3 separate regions of the Homo sapiens genome follow, and regions 2 and 3 are each linked to region 1. The links are contacts of gene promoters, found by promoter capture Hi-C in blood cells and fetal thymus (Javierre and others, 2016). All regions are on one chromosome and are shown on one strand. Each heading gives the region's core, a stretch centred on a gene start or on the middle of the fragment in contact. The rest is flanking DNA. Distances are from core to core; before and after follow the strand shown.

What was found. The method cuts DNA at HindIII sites, captures the fragments that hold promoters and counts their contacts. A CHiCAGO score of 5 or more calls a contact.
Region 2: a fragment that was not itself captured here is called in contact with the fragment with the promoter of KRTAP1-3 in region 1 in 1 of 17 cell types (total CD8 T cells); the score reaches 5.4 in total CD8 T cells.
Region 3: a fragment that was not itself captured here is called in contact with the fragment with the promoter of KRTAP1-3 in region 1 in 1 of 17 cell types (naive B cells); the score reaches 7.3 in naive B cells.

The regions. Positions count from the first base shown.
Region 1 is chr17:41,033,581-41,036,158 of GRCh38, reverse strand. KRTAP1-3 (keratin associated protein 1-3) reads left to right here and starts at 1,285. Exons shown (of 1, transcript NM_030966.2): 1 at 1,285-2,275. The coding sequence starts at 1,338. The coding sequence ends at 1,841. The HindIII fragment of the contact is 12,344 bases long and covers 1-2,578 here.
Region 2 is chr17:41,351,363-41,353,940 of GRCh38, reverse strand. It overlaps LOC105371778 (a long non-coding RNA gene), which reads right to left and starts at 2,444. Exons shown (of 2, transcript XR_001753056.1): 1 at 2,338-2,444; 2 at 143-1,519. The HindIII fragment of the contact is 650 bases long and covers 953-1,602 here.
Region 3 is chr17:41,334,014-41,336,591 of GRCh38, reverse strand. No RefSeq gene overlaps it. Among named protein-coding and RNA genes, the nearest start is that of KRT33A, 16 kb to the left of the region's middle. The HindIII fragment of the contact is 1,879 bases long and covers 363-2,241 here.

The DNA of each region.
Region 1 (2,578 bases), core at 36-2,535:
TTAAAAAATCTAAATCTATAGAATATCCTAAGATAAAAGATGAGACAAAGTCACAAGAAGGTTAACTTTTTTAGCACTTAAGATTTTCTTGAACTGTGCTTATTATGCTGTTAATAAATAAATAAAATCTCTAGGAATGGCTGTAGTAAACTGTGTTATTACTTACCCTAAGCTCTCCCTTCCTTCCTTTTACTCTCAAAAAAGTCCGTAAGAAAGGAAGCAAATTTTTACGGCTTGCTTTCACCATTGGAATTTCCTTAGAATGACTTTTTACATAAAAAAAGAAGAAAGGAAAGAAAGAAAGGAGAAAGAAGAAAAAGAAAGAAAGAAAGAAAGAAAGAAAGAAAGAAAGAAAGAAAGGAAGGAAGGAAGGAAGGAAGGAAGGAAGGAAGGAAGGAAAGAAAGAAAGAAAGGAAAGAAAGAAAGAAAGAGAAAGAAGGAAAGAAAGAAAGAAAGAAAGAAAGAAAGAAAGAAAGAAAGAAAGAAGAAAGGAGGGAAGGAAGGAAGGAAGGGAGAAAGACAGAGAGAAAGAGAGAAAGAATTGACTATAGTGTTTAAAGAGTTTAGTCTGGAATCAGAGGTTGTGGATTCAAATTTCAGATTCACTAGATACTAGTGTGAACTAGGGTAAGTTACTTCAACCTGTTGTGGCTCAGTTTTCTCACATGGTTGATGGGAGTGGCAGTGATACCTAGCCCATAGATTGCCGTGAAAATTCAGCAAATTGATACATGCGAAGTACTCAGAACTATTTAGGCACATAATCAGTGATGGGAAAATGTTATCAATAGCAATTAATGCAAATCTCCCAGGCCCAAGAAAGCATCCCTTTCTGGCCAGCTGAATATAGTCTTGCTTCACAGTCAAAGGGAAGATAAGAAAGTTAGAGAAGGAGCCACAGTTAAAATTGGAGGGAATTAAACTGTCATGTGAGACCCAATCACCCAGTTGTAAGGGTCAACACTGAGTAATATTGACAATCCTTAAAGGTGAGGCATCAGTCAATTATTCCTTGACCATGAGGAAATTTTAAGAAACATGAGGAGTTAGGGATCATATTCCTAATTAATGCCAATGACTTCTTGACCATGGTAAAGAAGCCTAATTGCAGACCAAATACAATCAACTTTCAAAGGCTCTCAGTAGGTTCAACAAATAATTCAGGGAGAGGCCAATTATCATTCAGAGACAAATTATCCAACACAAATAAGCAAGAGACTTCTGGAATTATGTAAACAGTAGCTGGCCCAGGCTTATAAAAGGCCCAATGTGGCAGCCATCACCAAAACTCAGAAACTCCTCCAAGCAACCCAGACTTCATACCAGCTCCCAACACCATGACCTGCTGCCAGACCAGCTTCTGTGGATATCCCAGCTGCTCCACCAGTGGGACATGCGGCTCCAGCTGCTGCCAGCCAAGCTGCTGTGAGACCAGCTGCTGCCAGCCAAGCTGCTGCCAGACCAGCTTCTGCGGATTTCCTAGCTTCTCAACTAGTGGGACCTGCAGCTCCAGTTGCTGCCAGCCAAGCTGCTGTGAGACCAGCTGCTGCCAGCCAAGCTGCTGCCAGACCAGCTCCTGCGGAACTGGCTGTGGCATTGGTGGTGGCATTGGCTATGGCCAGGAGGGCAGCAGTGGAGCTGTGAGCACCCGTATCAGGTGGTGCCGCCCAGACTGCCGTGTGGAGGGTACCTGCCTGCCCCCCTGCTGTGTGGTGAGCTGCACACCCCCAACCTGCTGCCAGCTGCACCACGCCGAGGCCTCCTGCTGCCGCCCATCCTACTGTGGACAGTCCTGCTGCCGCCCAGTCTGCTGCTGCTACTCCTGTGAGCCCACCTGCTAAAAGCCAGTTTGCTGATTTTCAACTTGAAATTTCCACTTTCAGTTCCATTCATGAACGAATTATTTCTTCAAGCACTTATGGACAACGAACAAATTCTTCAACCTTTCTTTGTCTTTCTTATGGGGGTTACCAAATATTTTGGCCTCAGAATTATCTGATTCCTTTCAATTCCAGAAAGACCTTACTCTTCTCTCTGAGGACGCCAAAATACAAATTTGACCCAAGAAATGAAAAAGCCGATTTACCTTGAAACTGAGCCTTTGCAAGCATTGAAGCCCACGCTCTGAGTCTCAGCGCCGACGAGACCATGGAAGAGCCATCTGTCCTTCTCAGGACACTCACTTCCTGTATCCCACCGTCCTGCAAATTGCACCCCCTATGAAAGAGGAATAATATACCAAGGTCTAATAAATTTTAACTATTGGTGCAACAAACATATCTTTTTTTTTTCATTGAGTGTACTCAGGATGTATATTTCATAGAATGTCATATGAAAAACTTTAATCTGCTTTTGATATCCCTTCTCTTCTAATACCACATTAGGAAATTTGTTATCCAGAGGTCCAGTGGAGGTTAATGACCATAAAAACATAGAGTAAGTGTAGTTATTTAGGGCCTCAGAAATGGCAAAGGCTCTGTTACCATAACTTAACCTTACACAGTGCTTTCACAACCAGGAAGTTACAGAAATCAAAATCTCTGGCTGGGTACGGTGGCTCACACCTGTAATCCCAGCA
Region 2 (2,578 bases), core at 28-2,527, 320 kb before region 1:
ATTGTTCTAAGTTGCTCCAAACAGATGGGATATAATCTATATCTGATGGGATATAATTATGTTTAAATTACTCCAAATTGTTGGTATATAATTGTATCATCAACTTAGAAATAATTGAAATCAGAGAGTTAACAAGAAACTGTACTATTGCTGAATTCTATCTTTATTTACACATTGACTCATAATTCTTCTTCAACACAGCATATCTATGGTTAACAAGATGTTTTTCTCACTGCCCTTGATTTCTGTCCTTAGGTAATAACAGATCAGATTGTTTGTGAAATTCTTCAACATTTCAGTAGAATGGTGATTGGGCTGATAATGCAGTGGGAATCAGAAGATCTGGGTCCTAGCTAGATGATACTAAGCAAGGCATTTCTCCATTCTGAGCCTCAGTTTCCCCTTCGTAAAACGAACGGTTTGGATGAGTTGACCATTAGGATCCCCAATATCTTGTTCCAAGATTTTCCCTCTCTCTTTTAACCATTTTCATATTTAGGATCTATGTTAGGAGGTAAGAGGGAGGAAGAGAAGAGCCAAATGCAAAGCCATCTGGTTTTTGGTCTGTAGCTGTAGCTGGGAGGCTTGGAAGCTGCTTGGATTGGTAGCTGTAGCTGGGAGGCTTGGAATCTGTTGTCTGCTTTATCCTCTGCTAGCAAGGACATAGGAAGCCCCTCCTCTTTCTGGCCAATGTATGCCTCCTCAGGCCCATACTTGAATTTTTTCCTCATTGCCTCTTTAGGATATCAAATAAGGCTCATCTTACATCTTGTGACAAAACAGAAGTGGTGTCATATGCACGGTCAGTTCAGATTACTCATGCTTCTTGGATAATTGTTCCTAAATAATAAACTATTACGAATCATCAAGTTCAAACAAGTCTGGCATCTGCGTAAAGCCCACTCCAATTATTGTATAAAAGTCTGTATTGGTAAGATCAAAGCTCCAAGCTTAATAATCAGATATATAAATTTATTGCAGCAGAACTTCTCTAAGTAATGAACATCTCAATTCTGTGTGTTTGAAGTCTTGGTTTACCGAAGTTCACTGTGGGCATTACTTTAAGAATGTGCACAGGCGCTGCGTACAGCAGGCATACCTGTGTGACCCTGGAAAGGTCCTGGTAAATTTCTGGTCAAGGCAGCCAATACCCTCTCCATGGTCCTGATCATGTGCGGCCCCTTTGCTGCACTTGGCACTTCTAACATCACCTCCTCTTGGAAGCACCCTCCTTCCTGCCCTTCTGGGATGCCATGAACTTGTTTTTATCATTTTTTTCTCACCATTTCTCCATTTATCACAGATTCTTTTTCCTTCTCCTGATCTCTGATTGGGAAATTCTCCAAAGTTTGGTCCTCAGCTCCTTGTTGCTCTTCTCTTTGTACTCTCCCTTGGCCCAGTTCTCTAACTCTCTCACTTGTACTAAACCTTATCTGTATCATCATCCCTGCCATAAATTCTAGTCTTGCATGGACTGTTGCAATAGTCTCTTTGCTGAACTCTTTGCCTCCAATCTTTCCTTCATTTTTCAAAAACAGATAAATATTTGCTAAAACATTTCCTAAAACACCTTTTGTCACACCACACTTAGGTTCAAAAGCTTATACTGGCTCTACAGCTTCTGGGGAAGTCCAAGCTGCTCCACTTCACCATCGAGACCCCCTACCATAGGGTCCCCATACAATCCCCCATAAAGCTTTAATTTCTAGCACTTCCCTTCACAACTCTCCCCTTCCTGCTGCCTAGACTTACCCTGGTCCTTCAACCATGCCTTGGGCTTTCCCACCCCATTCCTGTGTGCACATTATTCTCCTCACCTGCACTTCCTACTTTTCTCCCCTCTGCTTCTTAGAAGCCTCCCTATCCCAGCACAAATCCATTCATCCATTCCTAAGAGCCTCCAATCCTGGAGCTGCTCGCCCTCCCCAGTGTGTAAACCACTCAGTTATCACTTGTCAACTTCTGCCTCAGATTATTATTTCCTGTTCATCCCTTCATCACTCTACCCACACCCATTCAACAGTGCCTACCAGGTGCCTAGAGCTGGGGATTCAAAGACAAACTAGACCCTGCCCTTGCCTTCAGGGACCTCAAATAGAGACAGAGAGACAAGCACATAAGTCATGACAGTGTCATGCTCAAGGTAAAAAGAGAGCTTGGAGAGGAGAAAGGGACGGCCTGTCTGAAGAAGGGAAGGAAGTAAGCCATTTATATTTAAGCCAAGTGTTGTGATGAAAAGAAAAGTGATCTGCTTTGGAATCCTAGGTCCACAACTTATTATCCTCACCCTCTATGCCTTGGTGTTCTCATCTATAAAATGGGAATTATACAGTTTACCTTTAAGAGTTCTGGTGAGGAATAATGGACATCTAAGTTCTGCATGTTTGAGGATCATGTTTGTAAAAAGGATCTAGTTTGTGAAAAGTGTCCACACTACCTTGGGCTTGTGCAGTTTCTTAACAAGTAAGAACTTCTTCTGACCATAGCATTGAGTCCTATTTTCCACCCCTCCCAGTGTCTATTACATCGCCCTGGATGAAATTGTCATAGTGGATATCTATTATTTGGTTGATTGACG
Region 3 (2,578 bases), core at 53-2,552, 300 kb before region 1:
TGAATCTTGACCATTCTATCACAGAGACTTGCAGCTTTGAGTTGGAGCTGCCCCCTGGACCTCCTGTCCACAGCACACCCCTGCAACACACACACACATGCACATACATACATGTGCACATACCTGCACACATACACACACATGCTGTGCTTCATGCCCTCACTAAGGTGGCATGGGAGGGAATGAGTGTTTTTAAGAGAAATGAAGACAACTCAGGCTTCTTGTTCTCCTGGTGTTTGCACAAGTGCCTTCTCTGCAGACCATGCTTCAATCTCTTTCTTGGCTTTCCCTGTTAGTGAAAGAGACAAGCAGAGCCCCAGCATGTATCTGACTGCTTAGGGTCCAACCCAAGCTCACAAGCTTCCTGGGGAGCCTAGTGAGATGAAGGCACTGCAGAGCCTCCCAAAAAGAGGCATCAGCTTTTGGTGGAGACTTGAGCCCGGGAAGGTGGGACATCATGGTTCATCAAAGACACAACCAAAATCCAGTGAGGAATGGCAGCCATCAAAAGTTTTATTCTTCAAGAGAAGGAGTTCTCAGGGGCTGTGGGCAGCAGGCACAGAGCTCTTTAGTGCATGTGTGGGCAGGTGATGGTGACCTACAGTTTGCACTGGGAACTAAGATCAAGAGTGACCTGACCTCTGCTCATGCGCATCTCTCCCTGTCTCTCTCTCTACCTTTTATGTCTCTCTCCTTATCTCTCTCCCCACACTCCCTCTCAGCCTCCTCTGTCTCTGTCTCTCTCCCCATCTCTCTTTCTCTCTCTCACTCCTTTCTTCCCATGTCTCTTTCTCTCTCCTTCTCCACTTCTCTCTCCCTCCTCCTCTCCCTCTCTGCCACTGTTCAGGCTCCTGCCCACCCCTCCCTGCTGTGCAGAGAGGCACACGCAGGACTCCTAGGCTACCTTCCAGGGCACACGCACAAGGCTGCCGGGACTTGGTCCCAGTACAGTGCCCCCACCTCCCAGTGCCCTCAAGGTCAGGGGTGTGGGGTGTGCTTGTGCTCTCTTGGGTGGGCACCCCACTCTCCAGGAAGCAGAAGCTGCAGGTCACTGCTGGCTTGAGTGGCACGCCTATTGGACTGCTGGCTTCCATCCTGTGATCTGCCGAGGCCAAAACAGAGGACACCTGCCAAGGCCCCACCCTGCTCCAGGGTTGGGGTAGAGGTAGGGGTAGTGGTGGGGATGAGAGCAGCCACTGCAATCTGGTCCCTGCCCAGCATCCTGCCCTGCACCCTGCCATGCAAGGCCTCCTCTGCCACCCTTTCCCTGCCCCTCACCATCTTCACCCCTAGAAAGCCCCAGGCACAGGCTCCAGAAATCTCCCTGGATCCAGGAACTAAGAGCAACCACTGGGCTCCACAGCCCCTAGGCCAGGTGTCAGCCACACCCACTGCATGCTGACAAATCTTGGCTCTCACTTATGCCCCCCCGCAAGCCAGCCACACTCTGCCCCCACTCCCCCCACTTCCTGACTTTAGCCCTGACTGACAGTGCTGCCTCCTGGTAACCTTTCCCCCTCCCCACAAGGTCCAGGCAAGCCCAAATGCCAGCACCCGCCACCCACCCTTCCTGGGTGCCCCTCTATTGTCTGCTTGCCTAGATGTCTTAACCTCATTTTACCAAGCTAGAACAAATAACAGGGATGAGCCCCCAGCCTCTCCCAGGAAGATTTGGCAAAATGCTCTCCTTTTAGAAGCAGGAGCAGTGACAGGACCTAGGGATGACCCGAGGCTTGTCACCCAAGCAACAAGAAGGGCAAGGAGCCCAGTTTTATGACCTCACCTTGGGAGGACATGGCCAGGGCTCCACAAGGCCCTGTGGGGGGCTGGCAGGAGAACAGATCCACTCTCCTTTTGAGGAAGCAGGCCCCAACCCTAGGAAGCAGCAGATGGGGGCACACAGGCAGAGCTTCCGCAAGCTGTAGATCAGGGTCAGCAGATCTGCATTCAGCTTTAGCCCCAGGGGAGCTGCAAGACGTGAGACACTGATAGGTTTGGCTCTGTGTCCCCACCCAAATCTCATTTTGAGCTGTAATCCCCATGTGTCAAGGGAGGAACCTCATGGGAGGTGATTGTATTATAGGGGGCTGGGTTCCCCCATGCTGTTCCCCTGATAGTGAGTGAGTTCTCAGGAGAGCAGATGGTTTTAAAGCATGGCACTTCCTCGTTTTCTCACTCCCTCCTGCTGCCTTGTGAAGAAGATGCCCGCTTCCCCTTCGCCTTCCACCATGATTGCAAGCTTTCTGAACTGTGAGTCAATTCAACCTCTTTCCTTGATAAATTACCCAGTCTCAGGTATTTCTTCATAGCAGTGTGAAAACAAAACAAACTAAGACAGACCCCTTCTCTGAGGTGCCTTCTTCTGAGGCCACCAGCTGCCCCCATGCTCCTCCTCTGCCCCCTGGTCTTTCTTTTCCCCTCATGAGGCCCAAGTGATCTGCATGGCCAGCCCCAGCCCCATCCTACTGCAGGCCTGTCTAGCTGGTGGAGAGGCCGACCTCCTTTCCTGACCCTCAGGCTGGCTGATATGCTCTCTGGATCCTGGAGGAAACTGATTGTCTCTCCTCATACTGGTAGC